Regions from separate parts of the Homo sapiens genome. Here all the other regions are linked to region 1. Evidence: promoter capture Hi-C in 16 types of primary human blood cells and fetal thymus (Javierre and others, 2016). All regions are on one chromosome and are shown on one strand. Each heading gives the region's core, a stretch centred on a gene start or on the middle of the fragment in contact. The rest is flanking DNA. Distances are from core to core; before and after follow the strand shown. Region 1 holds the start of RAMP1 (receptor activity modifying protein 1). Region 2 overlaps UBE2F (ubiquitin conjugating enzyme E2 F (putative)). Region 3 overlaps UBE2F (ubiquitin conjugating enzyme E2 F (putative)). Region 4 overlaps SCLY (selenocysteine lyase). Region 5 overlaps UBE2F (ubiquitin conjugating enzyme E2 F (putative)). Region 6 holds the start of ESPNL (espin like).

The links. The method cuts DNA at HindIII sites, captures the fragments that hold promoters and counts their contacts. A CHiCAGO score of 5 or more calls a contact.
Region 2: a contact is called between a fragment that was not itself captured here and the fragment with the promoter of RAMP1 in region 1, in 4 of 17 cell types (megakaryocytes, M1 macrophages, M2 macrophages and 1 more). The highest score is 10.3, in megakaryocytes.
Region 3: a fragment that was not itself captured here is called in contact with the fragment with the promoter of RAMP1 in region 1 in 9 of 17 cell types (megakaryocytes, M2 macrophages, M0 macrophages and 6 more); the score reaches 21.0 in megakaryocytes.
Region 4: a fragment that was not itself captured here is called in contact with the fragment with the promoter of RAMP1 in region 1 in 5 of 17 cell types (megakaryocytes, endothelial precursors, erythroblasts and 2 more); the score reaches 8.6 in megakaryocytes.
Region 5: a fragment that was not itself captured here is called in contact with the fragment with the promoter of RAMP1 in region 1 in 3 of 17 cell types (megakaryocytes, M0 macrophages and M1 macrophages); the score reaches 6.5 in megakaryocytes.
Region 6: the fragment with the promoter of ESPNL here is called in contact with the fragment with the promoter of RAMP1 in region 1 in 10 of 17 cell types (megakaryocytes, endothelial precursors, M0 macrophages and 7 more); the score reaches 17.1 in megakaryocytes.

What each region holds. Positions count from the first base shown.
Region 1 is chr2:237,858,340-237,861,150 of GRCh38, reverse strand. It overlaps RAMP1 (receptor activity modifying protein 1), which reads right to left and starts at 1,528. Exons shown (of 3, transcript NM_005855.4): 1 at 1,424-1,528. The coding sequence starts at 1,475. RefSeq lists an enhancer at 2,141-2,811. The HindIII fragment of the contact is 3,458 bases long and covers 1-2,811 here.
Region 2 is chr2:237,991,819-237,994,577 of GRCh38, reverse strand. All of the region lies in intron 3 of UBE2F (ubiquitin conjugating enzyme E2 F (putative)), which reads right to left. The region is part of intron 3 of UBE2F-SCLY (UBE2F-SCLY readthrough (NMD candidate)); the gene reads right to left. Among named protein-coding and RNA genes, the nearest start is that of UBE2F, 26 kb to the right of the region's middle. The HindIII fragment of the contact is 3,258 bases long and covers 1-2,759 here.
Region 3 is chr2:238,013,048-238,016,218 of GRCh38, reverse strand. The region is part of intron 4 of UBE2F (ubiquitin conjugating enzyme E2 F (putative)); the gene reads right to left. The region is part of intron 4 of UBE2F-SCLY (UBE2F-SCLY readthrough (NMD candidate)); the gene reads right to left. Among named protein-coding and RNA genes, the nearest start is that of SCLY, 46 kb to the left of the region's middle. The HindIII fragment of the contact is 4,730 bases long and covers 1-3,171 here.
Region 4 is chr2:238,075,413-238,078,145 of GRCh38, reverse strand. The region is part of intron 4 of SCLY (selenocysteine lyase); the gene reads right to left. The region is part of intron 11 of UBE2F-SCLY (UBE2F-SCLY readthrough (NMD candidate)); the gene reads right to left. Among named protein-coding and RNA genes, the nearest start is that of SCLY, 16 kb to the right of the region's middle. The HindIII fragment of the contact is 1,622 bases long and covers 555-2,176 here.
Region 5 is chr2:238,042,049-238,045,129 of GRCh38, reverse strand. UBE2F (ubiquitin conjugating enzyme E2 F (putative)) reads right to left here. Exons shown (of 10, transcript NM_080678.3): 10 at 2,348-3,081. All of the region lies in intron 7 of UBE2F-SCLY (UBE2F-SCLY readthrough (NMD candidate)), which reads right to left. Among named protein-coding and RNA genes, the nearest start is that of SCLY, 17 kb to the left of the region's middle. RefSeq lists a silencer at 2,230-2,422. The HindIII fragment of the contact is 6,960 bases long and covers 1-3,081 here.
Region 6 is chr2:238,098,852-238,101,729 of GRCh38, reverse strand. It overlaps ESPNL (espin like), which reads right to left and starts at 1,390. Exons shown (of 9, transcript NM_194312.4): 1 at 1,017-1,390. The coding sequence starts at 1,310. SCLY (selenocysteine lyase) reads right to left here. Exons shown (of 12, transcript NM_016510.7): 12 at 2,317-2,878. UBE2F-SCLY (UBE2F-SCLY readthrough (NMD candidate)) reads right to left here. Exons shown (of 19, transcript NR_037904.1): 19 at 2,317-2,878. RefSeq lists an enhancer at 2,877-2,878. The HindIII fragment of the contact is 15,429 bases long and covers 1-2,878 here.

The DNA of each region.
Region 1 (2,811 bases), core at 279-2,778:
TCAGCCTCTGGACACTAGTAAAGAACGTTTATTTATTTGGTTATTTATGTAAAAAATATTCCACAACCCAGCTCTCTGCCTTGCTAACAAAGAAATGTTTGTTTCTTAGTAAATGAAAACAGTGAAGGCCATGTCAAGCCAAATGGAGAGAATAAAATTACTGCGAGATTCTGCTTTCCACGTAACTTCAGCCAAAACTCTAAAGTGGCAAGATCCGCTTTCAGATTATATTATATCGGCCTCTGAGGATTCTATGCAGATCTGCCACCCCTTGGAGAGGTTTACAAATAGGGAACAGAAATCCATGGCTCCCAAGAAGCCCTGGCCCCTCTCCTCGCTGGGCCACGAACCACTCCCCCAGCTACAACAGCGCCGGTGGTCCCTGCTTGCCCAGTGCCAGCGCCAAAGAGGTCTTGTGCGGCAGGTGCCTCTGACCAACATCACTGTTTCCGGGGAAAGGCCACACATACCAGAAACAACTGCTCCGGCCTTCCCAGGGACACTGGGTTCTCCCACGCCAGTAACCTATTCACAGTTTCCGTTAAAAGGTAGCTAAATACACGGAATAATGCAATAGCCAAAGCGGTTTAGAAGGGGCTTGAGTTAGCATTTTAGGAACACATTACAGACAAGGGAAGTGAACAGCACCGTTTCTTGCCGAGTGTGTGGCCAGTTCCTGTGGCCATGAGGCTGCCGCTAATCTCCACTTCTCCCTCCAAGTGGAAAGCCAAACGTGTTCCACCACTTCACCAAGGGACCCGTCCTTCTTTAAATTTCTATTAGCCAAAAGTGCCAAGTTAACAAGCAAACCAAAAGAAAAAAGAAAAAAAGCGATGGAAGTGTCCCGAAAAGGGCTGGCCTCATTTCTGCAAAAGACGTGATTTGCAAACAAGCAACTGCTGCAGGCGACAGATTGTCAGTGTTGACTAATTTCCATACAAACCGGCTGTGGTTCTGATTCCCGAACACTGCGTCTTCTGCAAGGTGCCCGTCTGCAGGTTTTGCAACGCGGGACGGCCTAGGGAAGGGAGCCTGCGCTGGCAGTCACCGCGGCGCACAGCCTGAGAAACGAGGTGCGGGGCTGGGGAACCCCGCGTCCTGTTTTTCCTTCTGAAAACTAGTTCTCCAGTGTGCAGGGCTGACTCACCCCACGCTTTCCAGAATGCCCGCTCTCCGACGTCCCCAAAGCCGTCCCTTCCCCGGCGAGAAGCGCAACACCGGTCCGCGCCCTCCGCCTCCCCTGTGCCCTGGGGCCTCCCGCCTGGAACCGGGGCGGCCCGCGTTCAAGGGCAGCGGATCTGTGCGCCCGCGGCGCCCGCCCCCACCCGCTCCCACCCGCTCCCACCCGCTCCCCTCCTCTCCCCTAGAGGACACCGGCTGGCCAGGGGAAGGGAGCTCGGCCGGGACCCCTGGACCTACTCACCCAGGAGCAGCCAGAGGCCGCGCCGCGGGAGGCGGCACAGGGCCCGGGCCATGGTGCACAGCGGTGCCGAGTCGAGTCCGCTCGCCACGCGCCCCGCTGAGGACTGAGCCCGCCGCGGCGCGGGCCCGGAGGAGACGCGCCGGGGGCGGGAGCGGGCGCGGGAGCGGTGGGAGGCGGCGGCCGCGCGGCCCGGCCCACTGCGGCTCCCCGCGTGGGTGCCAGGGCCGGGGGCGCCCAGGGCCGGTAAAACTTTGCAGGGGGGCCGCGCGGGCGTCTCCAGGCCCCTCCCGGGGGGCGGCACACTTGGGGTCCCAGGAAGGCCTCCTGAAATGTTCTCCGAGCAAATAAACACTTTTTAAACTAGGGAGGGTCTCCTAGACGACTCAGCGTGAGGGGCACCTTGGTCTCCACCTGGGGATCTTCCCCTCCTCCTCCTCCGAGGTTCTGGGCGTTCCTGCCTGGTGTTTGCCTTGCAAAAGGCTAAGATCTCCCAGCCTTATCTACCTCTCCGCCCAGGTGCAGGCGCTGGGGAGCGTGGGGGGCAAAACTCGCCACCGCGCCTGGCGAGACCCGTAGTAACCCAAAATGGCGCACACTTACCAGGCCCTGGAATGCTGCTCCAGATCTGCAGGATGAGTGGGTGGGCAGAGGCGGGGACAGCACGGCAGGTGAACAGAAGCCGTGGGGCTGGAGGAACAGGGCTCTTTGGGGGGATTGAGATGGCCTGGGAGTCTTGCTGTTGATGGGTAGGTAGCGAGAGCCTGGCAGGAGGTTGTGAGGGCCTGGCCACAGAGTCTTGAGATGAGGTTTGCTTTGGTGGCACTCTGGCAGCTGCATGGAAAACTGATGGGGGATCTTGGGTACATTCGTTTATGTAAAGTGGTGAGAGGAGGGCGCTCTGGAGATGGGCCGGGGAAGCCTGCGGAGGAGCAGGTTTTGGGAGGCACAGGCCTGGCCTCTCGGCATTACTGGTGGCTGGATTTCACTTGCAGTGGTTCCTTCTTGTATTATCCTGTTCCGAGAACTCTTAGCAACAGTAAATTTATACTTGTGCTAAGGAATGCACCACTGCCCTTGGAGGGGGAAGAATCACCACCCTGGTGCTGCGGCCACAGCTGTCTCTTTTGTGGTGGAAGCTGCAAGCGCACAGCATTGCTGAGTGACCATCGTTTTCTCCTAGGAAAGGGAACAGTCTGTGGCTGAGAGGCTGCTGCCACCTGCAGTAAGCTCAGAGAAGGGGAGACAGCTGACAGCGAGGTCATCCACTGGTTCTTCTAACACAGGCTGGGAGGGCACTCAGGGCCAGCATGCCTACCACCTGTGCAGGGGCCCCAAGTGTTCTGAGAGTGAGGGGTGAGATGGTGGGGGAGGGCACACATTCTCTTGAC
Region 2 (2,759 bases), core at 181-2,680, 130 kb before region 1:
ACTCTAAAATTGCAAACCAGTGGTTTTTGTCATGTGCTTTTCTCCTTACAGTGTTTTACTAGTTAATTCCAAATAGAGATGTTTTCCTTCAACCTTTAAGTGGTCACTAAACCATTTATTTCAAGAATTATGCTACTGTACTTTGACAAGAAGAAACCATATCTCAGGGAGATTAATACATGCAGGCAAAGGCTAACTAAACACGAAAAAACCAGGAAAGAGCCCAGGTCAACTCTGTTGCCCTAGCACCACAGACATTCAGTCACCATGGTAAATGGAAGTTCTTTATAAAGAAGGGTGCTGGCCAGGCATGGTGGCTTACGCCTGTAATCCCAGCTACTTGGGAGGCTGAGGCAGGAGAATCACTTGAACCCAGGAGATGGAGGTTGCAGTGAGCCAAGATCGCGCCATTGCACTCCAGCTTGGGCAACAAGAGTGAAACTCTGCCTCAAAAAAAAAAAAAAAAAAGAAGAAGAAGAAGAAGAAGAGTGCGCCCAGGACTTAGCTCCCACCCAGCCAGAGTTTACCATAATCTTTTGTCTTTTTAAAAAATACCTTTACTACCTAAGTGGTAAATCAGCTTGCTTTATTGGTAAAATAATGCTCTACTGACCCAGATGGCAATGTTCTGTGCCCACTGGTCCAAATCATAAGAGGCCTGAATCAGGACAAAGTGTTCCCCTGGGAGAGAAGCTACTGGCTGCTGGTGCAGGCCAGGGAAGTTGATTGCATCCCACCCATCTCCTTCAAACAAATGACACACAGCTAATTACCCATAGGAAAAATACCCAAGGAATCTGGAAGGAATATATATAGAAATTTTCTACATCTATAAAATCAGAAAATACTATGCTAAACTTTTTTTTAGACAGGGTCTCACTCTGTTGCCTGGACTGGAGGACAGTGGCATGATTCCAGCTCACCGCAACCTCTGCCTCCAAGGCTCAGGTGATCCTCCCACCTCAGCCTCCTGAGTAGCAGGGACTACAGGTGCACACCACCACACCTGGCTAATTTTTGTATCTTTTGTAGAGACAGGTTTTCGCCATGTTACCCAGGCTAGTCTTGAACTCCCATGCTCAAGTGATCCACTCACCTTGGCCTCTGAAAGTGCTAGGATTACAGGCATGGGCCACCACACCAGGCCTATGCTAAACTTCTCAGTTCACCACTGGTGGTGAACTAAACATGGAAAAACCAGGAAAAACCCAGGTCAAATTTCTACTCTGTTCTCTTAGCACCACAGACATCCACAGTCACCACGGCAAATGGAAGTTAAAAAGAAGAGTGCTGGCCAGGCATGGTGGATCATGTCTGTAATCCCAGAACTTTGGGAGGCCAAGGCAGGCGGTTCACGAGGTCAGTAGTTTGAGACCAGCCTGGCCAACGTGGTGAAACCCCGTCTCTACTAAAAATACAAAAATTAGCTGGGCAAGGTGGCGGGCGCCTGTAGTCCCAGCTACTTGGGAGGCTGAGGCAGGAGAATTGCCTGAACCTGGGAGGCAGAGGTTGCAGTGAGCTGAGATCACGCCACTGCCCTCCAGCCTGGGCAACAAAGCGAGACTCCATCTGAAAAAAAAAAAGAGTGCTGCCCAGGAGTTAGCTCCCACCCAGAATTTACTATGATATTTTGTCTTTTTAAGTTTTTAAAGTTTTTTTAGAAGACTTTTTAAAAATTTGTTTAAAGTTTTCTTACAAGTTCCACCAAAAGTATTTGCTTAGTTTGACAATGATAAAAATTTTTATCGAAAACAGGACAATTCAAATTTCTACTCAGAGGTGACCTTAGAGACGATCTAGTCCAACGTCCTCAATTAGGAGACATAAGTAGAAGGTCTAGAGAGGCTTGGTGACTAGCCCAAGATCATACAGGTTATCAACAGAAGCAAGGTTAATTCCTACATTAATAACTAGTTCATGACTCCTTCCCCTACCTCATGCCTCATTTCCTTTCAGTACTTAATGACCATGTTAAGACATGGGACACCTGTATATACAAGCAGCAAATAACACAGGACTGATAGTGGGGTTTCCTTTCCAGAGTGAAAACTGTCTAGAAAAGCAAGAAGCAGTCTTAGAGATGACAATGTCACAGTCCTTACTTGAGAAATAAACAAACTGGAGCCAAAGAGTTCAAGACTTTCCCCAAAATTACACATTTAGAACTATGTGTGAAATACTTAAAATGGGCTTTATTCTTCCTAATCTTAACTTGCAAAGATAAATGCCATCCTTCTAGTGAGTTCTAAGTAACAAAAACATATAATTCTGACTTGGGAAATGTTTCAATGATTCACTGAAGTTGGCATCATGTATTTGTTTTTAATATCTGGCATTCTCTTTTGTTTTAATAGACAGATGCGGAAATCAATAGCTCCAAAAAGCTGGCCCATCAAGAATAAAGAAATTATCGGCCGGTCGCAGTGGCTCATGCCTGTAATCCTAGCACTTTGGGAGGCCAAGGCAGGTGGATCACCAGAGGTTAGGAGTTCAAGACTAGCCTGGCCAACATGGTAAAACCCCCTCTCTACTAAAAATACAAAAAATTAGCCGGATGTAATGGCGCATGCCTGTAATCCCAGCTGAGGGGGAGGCTGAGGCAGGAGAACTGCTTGAACCCGGGGGCAGAGGTTGCAGAGAGCTGAGATCGTGCCACTTCACTTCAGCCTGGGTGAAAGAACGTGACTCTGTCTCAAAAAAAAAAAAAGAAATTATCAAAGTGGATTACAAAGCAATAAAACTATGCCAGGCGCAGCGGC
Region 3 (3,171 bases), core at 41-2,540, 160 kb before region 1:
AAGTGACTTCTTTATCTGCTTACTGCTGGTCTCCCCAAGAGAATGTCAATTGGAGGACACAAGACTAACAGTCACCAACAAACCCTTACTGAGCACCCAACCTCTGCTGGGCATGGTTCTAGGCCTTGGGGACACAGCAGTGAACCTGACAGAATCACTGCCTCAGTGATTGCTTGATGCAGCCTTCAGAACAGAGCAGGCCTTCTAGAAACGCGGGCTGGTAGGCACGAAGGAGGAAGCCCAGGGTCTGAGCATCACCACATTGCCATCCACATGCTGTGTACCCCCACTCCCTCTTTACCCCGCCCCCCACACCCTGTAGACCCCACAGGGCAGTCCCTCTCCTCAGGTGGTACCCAGCCTGGGGTCACTAAGTGGCTGCTGGTGCCAGCAGAGGGCACTTCAGCATGAATGAGCTTGGAAAAGCCACTGGAAATAAATTATTCTCAATTTTCAAATTTGACAGAATTAGCACCATTTTAAAATTAAAATTCAACTTCCCCTAAAATATTTATCATCATGAACAAACCAGTAATATTAAATCTTATCATTTTCCTCAAATTTTTATATGAAATGAATGCATAACAGCAAGTTGTTAGCCTCAAACAAGTCATCATTAAAAAAAAATTCCATTCCTTAAGAGTTGAGACCGTATCAACATTTATGTCATCTAGTAGTTAAAACTGGCATTACCTGGACCCTAACATTTTTTTTCTTTGCCAATTTGATAGAAGAGAAATACCAGTTCTCTTTTATTTTACATTCTCTGATGAATACTAGTGAGGCTAAAATTTATATGATTATTGGTCATTTAGGTTTTTCTTTTAAGAACTGAATGATCAATGTTCTGAAACTCTCCTTTTATTACTGAGGTATTCATCTTTTAATTACCAATACAAAAATCTCTTAATTAGCCTTTGCTTTTTAAATAGGCTACAAGCAATTTTTCTTAGTCTGCTGTTTGCATTTTGATTTTGTGGTTTCTGAACACTAGTTTTCCATTTTTAAGAAGCTAATCTTTCTTTAGGGTTTCTGTCTTTGGGGTCATGCTTAGAAAAGGCCTTTCCCAACCAAGATTATATCAATATCCTCTTATATTTTCTTCTAGTAATTTAATGGTTTCATAGATTACATTTAATCAGCTCATTCATTCATCAACTGATTGCAGACTAAGGTCGTATTTTTTTTCCTAACTGGTTGCTTAATCACCCCAACGGCGTTTATTATTCTAGCCTTCCTCCACTTACTTGAGATGCGTATTTCTAGTTTTTATAAATACACTTGGATTTCTGACTGGCAGTATAAAGTCTCTGGCAAAGATACTTGTTTGGGGAAATTTTTAACTCCAGATATAAGAACTTTTCAAATAAGTGGCATCTTAGATATAAAATACTCAGAGTACATATCCTTGTTCATCAAAGCATGTGTGGATGTTGGTGTCTTACATGTATTGTGATATTGACCACTGTGGCACAACACAGAAATCCAATGCCAGGCTTAACATTACAAACCACGCAGTCCACTCTGTGAACTGTTACACAGCTTTTGGATGATGCTGCTTCACCCGCGCTGTCCTTTTCCTTTCCCTTAGGAATGATTACTACCCATGCGAGACACCCTGGTCGTGGCTGTGCTCTGGCCATTCCATCCTGCCATGCTATATTTTTTCTCTAGTTGGCTTTCCAGTTCATGGATTACAGAGTTTCAACTCTATTGCCTACCACTTTCAAAGATGTTATTTGGTCTAATATGATTATCACTTCACCTTATTCCCTCTGCTCCAGTCAAGTTCTTCCTTAATAATTATTAGGATTATATCTTCTCTTAACTCATTAAAAAGTGAGAACAGACTGTTTTATTTTTTTCTCTTTCATGAAACAAATCTCTCTCAGGAAAATGATCTGCTCCTGCATCAGTACTTCTTTTTCCCTCTTTGAAGTTGCACAGTTTTTAGACCTGATCCAAATCTGCTTATTTATTATTGTTAATTTGCCCAGAAATTCCACAGTCCAACTTAAAAAGCAGCTTGGGAGCAGACTGGACTGAGATGAAACCCAAGAGCATCTCTTATTTACAAGGTTTCCTTCACGATGTCCCCAGCTTAAGAGTTCAGATTCACCTTCTACACCTGGCTCTGGGAGTACCTGGCCCAAGGCGGAGACGGTTCAAGGAAGGCCTGCTCACTTCCACAGCCGGCAGGTAGTGGACTCATTGAGAATGTCTGTAACTACACGTGCACCGTGGCCCACAGCACAGTACACAAGTCCAGGACAGGCCAATTCTATGTTACTATCGTCCATGGCTGCTGGGACTGAAAACACATTTCTCAGACAACTAGGTTTTAAAATACAATAATGAAATGCAACTGAGGGAAGTTCCTGGCACTCAGCTCTCAATCAGCCAGCCTGGCCCCTGCCCCACTGTTACAATTAGAGGAATTATCCTCCTCTTTCCTTGTGCTTTAGAGCCCACTCCTCACTACCTTTGAGGAACCATACTCCAGTGTCTTCAAGATTACCGAGAGCCCTGGGAAAACAAACCTTTTGAAGGGGTATGTCGCCTCAAATCACTGTGACAGAATCCATTTCTAGATTCTAGATGGCCGACATCCACATATGCTCTGTCTGGTAACAAATCTGTGGACAACGCCCTTGAGGCCAAGGAGTCATGCCAGCTCTCTGTCCCACCTCCTCTTCTACAACCTTCTTCCCCCCTGCAAAAAAAGGCCTACCTCCCATCTCCCCCTGTACTAGAATGAACTGTCTCAAGGAGTGGACATTCCCAGGGGACAAAAGTACCCGTGACGCACTGATAAGGGTAAAGCCACCTCAAAGCGACACATTAAGGTAGGGTTGTGCTTTTCCCTATATTTGCTTTTTCCCCCACCACTGTGTCTCCATTCGCTTTTCCCTATCTATAACCATTTCTTTCTTTCTTTTTTTAAATTATTTATTTATTTTTGAGACAGAGTCTCATTCAATTGCTCAGGCTGGGGTGCACAGCTCACTGCAGCCTCGAACTCCAGGGCTCAGGTGATCCTCCCACCTCAACCACCCAAGTAGCTGGGACTACAGGTGTGTGCCACCACGCCCAGCTAGTTTTTTTGTAGAGATGGGGTCTCACCATGCTGCCCACGCTGGTCTCAAACTCCTGACCACAAGCGATCTGCCC
Region 4 (2,733 bases), core at 116-2,615, 220 kb before region 1:
CCCGTCTCTACTAAAAATACAAAAATTAGCCAGCCATGGTGGCAGGTGCCTGTAGTACCAGCTACTCGGGAGGCTGAGGCAGGAGAATAGCTTGAACCTGGGAGGCGTAGGTGGCAGTGAGCCAAGATCGTGCCACTGCACTCCATAGCCTGGGCAACAGAGCGAGATTCCGTCTAAAAAAAAAAAAAAAAAGAGAATCTACAGGAGACCCATGTGTCTTGTTCAGGGATCTTGGGCTGGGCCTAGTTAACCTTCCCCAAAGGTGACTTTTCCCTTTTCCTATTATTCACATCAAAGATAAGTCTTAGATGCTGTGTGATGTTCAAGCAGTTTATTCTGGCAGTGCTCTTACAAGATAGCTAGCAGGAGCAGGCAGGTGGCAAGGGTCAGATACATTCAGGTATCAGATGACTGCCTGGCCGGGAAAGTCTCTGTCCAGAGAACATTCTCAGAGTTTTGGGGATTCTTCCCCTTTCTTATCTTGTATTTAGTCCAGGTCAGTTACCAGGTTTTTCTTCCATAAGGGAGTTAAGCTATTTTGGTAAGGGAAAGCTTTGTATTTATGGTTTATGAGAGTTCCATCTATGCTGAGGTGGTCTTACCTCCTGGAAATTCCCAAGCCAGGGTTGGAAATCCCTAGACCATGTTGCATCATACTGCTAATTGACACATAGTGTCAGCCCTGCAAGATGTTTGCATGGGCCTTACGGCTATCATTAATCTTATAGCCACAATATGTCTCTAACAGTGTATTACAACATGTCAGATTTAAAGACATAAATGGATTAAAAGTAAAAGGATGGAAAAAGATATTTATGCTAGCAGCAACCATAAGACAGTTGGAATGACTATACTTACATAAAATAAAAGGGATTTAAAAAGTTACCAGCAATATAGTTGGACATTTTATAATGATAAAAGAACCAGTTCATCCATAATATATAACAAATATAAATGTATGTGCACCTAACAATAGAGCACCAAAATACACGAAGCAAAAACTGACAGGTTTGAAGGGAGAAACTGATTAATAGTGTGATCAACTATTAATCAGACCACTGATTAATAATACTGGGATCATTCAAAATCACATTTTCAATAATGGATACAACAACTAGGCAGAATTTTAACAAGGGAACAGAAGACTTGAATAACACTACAAATTAAGTAGACCTAACAGACATCTACAAGACACTCCACCCAACAACAGCAGAATATACATTATCCTCCAGTGCACTTGACATATACTCTAGGATATATGTCTACATACATCCTAGGCCACAAAATAAAAAAAATTAAAGAATTTAAATCAAAGTATTTTCTAGCTCTTATGGAAGAAAATTAGAAATCATTAGCAGAAAGAAATCTTAGAAATTAAAAAACATATGGAAATTAAACAATACACTCTTTTTTTTTTTTTTTTAATTTATTTTTTTATTGATAATTCTTGGGTGTTTCTCACCGAGGGGGATTTGGCAGGGTCATGGGACAATAGTGGAGGGAAGGTCAGCAGATAAACAAGTGAACAAAGGTCTCTGGTTTTCCTAGGCAGAGGACCCTGCGGCCTTCCGCAGAACAATACACTCTTAAATATCTAATGGGTCATAGAAAAAAAAAACCACAAGGGAGACTAGAAAATACTTTGAGATGAATGAAAATGAAGACACAACATACTAAAACATGTGGAATGTAGTTAAAGCAGTGCTTAGAGGGAAATTTATGTCTTTAAATGCCTACATTAAAAAAGAAAAAACGTCTGGGTGTGGTGGCTCACACCTGTAATCCCAGCACTTTTGGAGGCCAAGGTGGGTGGGTCACTTGAGTTCAGGAGTTCGAGACAAGCCCAGCCAACATGGCAAAACCCCGTCTCTATTAAAAGTACAAAAATTAGCCAGATGTGGTGGTGCATGTCTGTAATCCCAGTTACTTGGGAGGTTGAGGCACAAGAACTGCTAAAATCTGGGAGGTGGAGGTTGCAGTAAGCTGAGATTGTGTCACCGTACTTCAGCCTGGGCAATAAGACTCTGTCTCAAAAAAAAAAAAAATACAAATCATAACTAATCTTCCACCTTAAGACACTGTAAAAAAAAAAAAAAAAAGGAACAAATCAAACCTAAAACAAGTAGAAAGAAAGAACCCATTTATGCCTGGTGTTCCATTATTGGAACGCTAAGCTTGTGGGAGTTATTTATATCCTACTGCTCAAGGTTATTGCCAAGGTCTGATTTTTCACACAAAAAAACTTGCAACCTCCGGCATAAATGGGTTAATAAAGGTTAGTGTAGAAGTCAATAAAATAGAGACTACAAAAATAACACAGGAAAATCAAAAGTTAGTTCTTTAAAAAGAGTTTTTAAAAAGATAAATCTTTAGCTAAATTGAACAAGACAGAGAAAAAGAATAAAATTACTAAAATCATGAATGAAAGGGATCTATAAATCTTACAGAAATAAAAAAAGATTACCAGAGACTACTATAAACAATGGTATGCCAATAAAATTAGATAACAAATGAAATGCACAAATTCCTAGAAGGACACAAACAACTGAAAATGACTCAAAAGAGATAGAGCCTGAACAAACCTATAAAAAGTAAAGAGACTGAATCAGTAACTTAAAAATTCTCCACAAAGAGAAGCCCAGGCCCAGATGTTGTCATTGGCAAACTCTATCAAATATTTAAAGATGAATTAAAACCAAGTCTTCACAAACCCTTCCAAAAAACAGAACAGGA
Region 5 (3,081 bases), core at 515-3,014, 180 kb before region 1:
GGCTCACACCTGTAATCCCAGCACTTTGGGATGTCAAGGCGGGCAGACTGTTTGAGCTCTGGAGTTTGGGACCAGCCTGGCTAACATGGTAAAACCCCATCTCTACCAAAAATACAAAAAATTAGCTGGGAATGGTGGTGCATGCCTGTAGTCCCAGCTACTGGGGAGGCTGAGGTGGGAGGATTGCTTGAGCCCAGGAGGTGGTTGCAGTAAGCTGAGATCACACCACTGTACTCTAGCTCCAGCCTGGGTGACAGAGTGAGGCCCCATCTCAAAAAAAGAAAGTGAAAACAATCCTGAATTGGTGGTTTACATCTTCTTGTTGGAATTCTTACATAAAAAAACACAACCTGCTTGATTTGATTATTGACAAAAAGGGCGATGTTAACAGGAATAAGTGACTTATTTTGAAAATCTCTTAGGGAATAAGAAGGTTCTACTTAACAAGTGTAACTCAGAATGCACCAGTAGTGCCGTGGGTTTTACAGAAGAAACTGGAACTGATTTTTCACAGCAGTTCTTTAAATAAGCGGGGATGGGGAGTGGCAGCAGAGCAACCCCAGGAACAGCAAGTGGGGTTTGTTCACTGAAGACTGTGACAGATTTTAGTGATCACCACCGCCTGGGAGTTTGCCCACTGGGATTTTATTTTTCTTTTTTGGGGGTCTAGAATCCAGCAGAAAGGCTATTCAATCTTTCTGCTGCCATAAGAAAAAAACATGCTGGGTCTATCACCAGATGGCCTCTGAATGGGCTAGGACACTGCTGAGACTGGCCTAGCTATGAACACTGTTGTGTTCTACACCCCACAAGGTCTTTCCAGACAAGTGTGCAAGTAACTAGAGAAAGAGGAAAACATGCACAGGTGCTTTGAATCATGTAAACTGCCGAATACTAAGGTACCTGATCCTTTACAAGAATGGACATTCACAATGTTTTAGCTCCTGAGCAGCCTCTCAGGCCTCTCGTGCCTGGAGACGAGGGCAGGTGAAGACAACCCTAACCCAAGACACTGGCTCCCTGTGGTCTGTGCTCTGCAAATAAAGCTGGTGGAAACATCACAGATGACGAGTCGTGGGAGAAAAGGCGAGGGGCACAGCTGAGATCCATTTTCAATATCTGAGTAATACTCTTGCCTTGGCTCCTTAGTAGAAAGGCTGCAAAGAGATGGTCACCTGCTGGTGATTATTTAGGGGAAGATCAGAGGTAAGATGTGAGCCTTCCTCTGAGAGGCTTACCCTGGAAGTGTTTCCTTCTAGGAGTGCTTGAAAAACATACAGCTTATGCATCAAATTCTAAGCAATAGTCATAAGGACCCTCTGGAGTCCAGCCAAGAACCAGGATTCAGGAAGCAAAGGTTCTGGATGTCCAACTGGATGTCAGAGCTTCCCAAGAGCTTCACTTCCCCAAGGGCCTGCCCACTCTCACCTATTTCCAGGACTGGCCTTTTGGCCGAGTATAGGGATTCCCATTCCCTGACAGATCAGAAATCACCAACTAGTACCCGGTTGGTTGGGGGCACATGCGCTGGAGCCAGAAATGTGACTTTGGCCTGTGAAAGAGGGAGGGGAATGCTAAGAATTCAAAAAGTCTGGAAGGAAACTGGGTCCCACAGTCACCCAACAGATCCCAAGGGCCCCACTGGCCAAGCACCCAGGACAACAGCTGCTGCTTACTGCGATGGGCTGCATCTGAGTGTGCTCCTAAGATGGGGTGTGTGTGCGCAACATATCTCTGGGGGATTTCCACTAGACAGAATGGGATGATTCAGTTATCTGGACATTTTGAAAGAATTGCTTAATCCCTGATAATGAGCAAAGTGTTTTTCTACTGTGCAGATACTTTGATGTCAGAATAACTGATATTACCACTTTCAGTGTGGTCCAGAGGGCACACTGTCTTTCATGTACACTGCATAAACGTTTCCACTGGACAGCAGGCGTTTCTCCCACAGAAGCGCTCTTCTGAAAAGTCCTGCATCAACACCTGCACCACCAGCTGGGGAACTCCAGGGAGCCCGAACAACTACTATGGGATGTGCCCTGACTTGGGCCTGGGACTGGCACCAAGCAGAGAACCTCATTTCCTGGGTCAGAGGGGGCAGGAATTAGCTGCTGGCCTCCTGCCCTGCCTAGAGAGGAAGCCTAGTGCTCAGCTGGCAAGTTCCTCTGACACTAGGCAGAGGAAAAGTGTGAAGCTGCAGTACCTCCCTCTCCCAGGCCCTGAGAGGTGGGGATTAATGTGTCTCCTGGACAAGCCCTGAGCTCCTGAGATGCCATCATTCTCTTTAACCAATCTCACCCTTCCTGCTCTGTGTGGCCTGTTAGCCAGGGGCCACCCTCAAGTCTAATGGGTGCAAAGAGGAAGCAAGGCCTACATTCCTCACCTGCTGGGTCTCCGTGACAGACTGATCTCACAATCAGAGATTCTATAAATTAAGAAAAACAAACTAAACCCAGTAGATGGCAGATGGGGGAATCCAGAGGTCTAAGGAAGCTGGCAGTTAAGTTTGAGAGTGTTAGGCAGGCAGCAAATGAAACTAGACAGACATTTATTTTGTGTTTGATTTCACTGGTTCAAATGTCTACATGCTGGAGTAAATCCACTTGCCTCTCTTCAGGGCTTTTCCTCTGCAGTATATTAACCTGGCCGAGGATGGCATATGCCACTGTTGACTCCTGGTCCTCCAAGGCCTAGGAGGCTCACCCCACCGGCAGGGCCTGGAGCCATAGCAAACTCAGAAGAAGGCCACAGGTACAGTCTCAGTGACATCAGACATTGGGCTGATTCCTGAGGCATCGCTCCTGTCTCCCAGGACAGCAGGGTCTGGCTCTCTGATAAGTAGCTACCAGGTCACAATCACATGACCACTGCAAAAGCATCAACCCCAGCTGGTCCAGGCTCCAGCCAGTTTCCTCTGGGCAGCATGTTAGAATGGGCTCCCTGCCTTTTTGTTTTGATCATCCAAATCTAGCTTCAAAGGGCTCCAAAATGTGCTCACCACATCCGGACCCGAAAGCAAGAGCTGATTTTTAAGAGTGAGATTCTCATTGCATTTGGACAAAATGAATAATGTGCCTT
Region 6 (2,878 bases), core at 141-2,640, 240 kb before region 1:
AGGTCTTGGGAGGCCACCTCTGGCAACCCTGCCCTCTCCTGGGCCCGTCCCCAGTGTGGAGAAGGCCCTTTCCCACGCAGTCGGGTGCCCGCAGACACCTGCCCACTCTGCTCATGGTCAGAAAGGCTTCCCAGGACACCTACCTCTGGCTGGTCCCCTGCCCCAGTGCCCTCCCGCTGGCCACAGGGTCCCGGGGCCAGGGAGCGTTCCTACCACAGGTGTCAGGGGTCCAGCAGACCTGGGCCTTCTCCAAGGGCCCTGTCAGAATGGATCCCCAGGCAGGCACAGCTCCCGCCTGCTGCCCTTGGGTTTGGCGGAAGGGCCGACAGGAACAGGATGCTGGGCCGGGACTCTCAGGTGCTCTGGCGAGCCAGGTGCTGGGGAACCTTCCCGCTCCGCAGTCTAAGCAGGCCCCACCGGCCCCCACCTCAACTCTGACCTCTGGGCGGCGGCGTTCTAAGGCCGGTCAGTCCTGCTCACCCTCAGCCCTGAAAGCTCCACAGGGCTGAGCGACAGCTCTAAGGGCCTCGCCTGCACAAAGGGGACTGGGCAGGCAGGATAGGGGAGGGGGGCCCAGTAGAAACGATCCGGACAAGACGATCACCATCAGCAGCCCTAACTCCCGTCCCCCAGGGCTAGGCTCCCAGCTCTCAAGCCCAAGTTCCCACAGTGCTTCTGTAAGGATCCCTTTCTAGACCCTTTGGGAGGCAGGCCCTGTGGACCAGGCCTGATCAGAGACAGGGGTCCTGATATCTGGCAAGACCCCCACTGGCAACGCCCAGCTTCCTGGCAGGGAAGGTGATAAGAAAATTTAGGAGGTGTTCTTGGCTCTCAAGCCTTTGTGCTCTGAGAGGCGTGGGGCAGAGACGGTAACCACTGACTGAGTCCCCAAGAGAAACAAAGGGCCCAGGGCCATGGAGCCCGGGGTGGCCAGTACTCTGATCCTCCGTGGCTCACACCTCCCTGGTTCCACCCCAGCCAGCTTCGTGGAGCCAGGCTGCCCCATCCCCGCTCACCTGCAGACCGCAGCCCCCCTCGCGGACCAGCCAGCACAGCTCGGCCAGGCTGCCCGTGGCAGCGGCGTCATGCGCTGGGGTGGCCCCGTTGTGGGCCCGCTGGTTGCCGGGCAGCTGGGCCCGCTGCACCAAGAACTTGACGCAGTCCAGGTGGCCAGCCCGGGTGGCGTGGTGAACCAGGCCGGCCCCCAGAGCATCGGTGATGCCCGGGCCCAGGGCGCCAGCCTCCAGCAGCCGCTCCAACGTCGCCACATCCCCATCCTTGGCGGCCACGAGTGCCCGCTGCTTCTCCATCCTCTGGCCCGGGCTCTCAGTGGCGACTCATGCACAGGCTGGGGCTTCCTGTTTCAGACGTGGATGAAGCTGCCGGCTCTGGTTACCCGATAAGCTGCCACAGGGCAGATGGGAGGCGGTGGGGTGGGGTCGGGTGGGGGGACAGGCCTTGAGGACCTGCCCAAGCCACTCCCACAGTGTGAGGGTGCCAGGTGCCTGGAGCTGGGAGGATGGAGTACAGGGCACAGGGAAAGGCCCACACCAGGCTAGGTCAGGGCTGGGTATGGCCAGCAGAGAAAGGAGGCTGGCCCTGAGGCTGCTCAGATCTGTCCAGATGGCAGGAACTTCATCTGTGGAGCGAGGGCTGAGGATACACGCCACTGAGCTTCTCACAGGAGCCCCGAGTGGCCTGGGAGACAGTTCCCCCAACTCTCACAGAAGGGCAGACCCCCAGCCGCCACCACAGTGTGTCTGAAGTAAAGGGTGCCCAGTAGGTCTACATGTTTGGCTGTGTTGACACCCACAGAGCTGAGCGCCCCGCCTCTGGGTCCCGGCCCTCGGCCCTGGAGGCTCCTAGGAATCTCTGGGGACACAGTGGCTCCACGGGGCCTGCAATGGGCTCAGGACCCTGACTTGGGTGTGTCCAGGCCTCTGAGGCGAGAAGGTGTCAGCCCCTGCCTCGGCCCCCTCTCCAACTACACGGACCAAGTCTCTGGGCTGCAGCCCCAAGGGCCCAAGTACATTTAACCCCTTTCCAGATTGTTCTGGACAATCCATAGTTCTTCTTTAGGGAAGTCAGGACCACCACAGCCTCTTCCTGGCAGCAATGGGAAGCTGCAGATGGGGGACCCATTACATTTGTAGGGGCTTCCGGAGACACAGCCTCAAGCTGGATTTCTGGGCTAACGCATCATCACACAATGGTGACCTGGGGGCTGCTGCACCCCTGGCTTCCCCCCGACAGGCTCTGTCAGATGACTTTGTGCCCAAGCGCAGTGCCCACTAGAGAAACCACAGGATCCCCAAGTCGGGCACTGAAATCTTTTATTCGTTAATTTAGTTTCTGGCAAGTGTTTCCTCAAAATCATCAAGTAGTTCCTTGAACCGTAAAACCACACATTAAAAATGTTATTCCACTGAAAATGACTCCTATGCAAATATCGACATGTGATGTGTGTCCAAATGCCAGAGCATTTTGAGAAAAGAATCCTCTGCAAATAAAATTAAGGTAAAAGCTGAGTCAGGGATGATCCGATTCCCACCCCAGGAATGACCTGGAGCTGCACCAACTCAGCGAGGTTGGAGCTGAAACCCTGAGTTAATAATGATCAAAAGGGACAAGACAGGAAGGCCTGGGGACCGTGGACAGGGAAGTGCGCAGCCCTGATTGCCAGTGGGCGGAACAGGGTCAGGCTCGGGGAAGCAGGAGGGGTGGTGGGCGGTGGGCGCTGAGCAGAGCAGGCCTGGCCGAGGCTGGGGGCCACTGTGCACTGAGGCCAGAGGAGCAGGGTGGTGGGGGCAGCTTTGGAAAGGGACTAAAAAGGGCCTGAGAAGAGACCACTCTGGAAAGGTGCATGTAGAGGCCATGA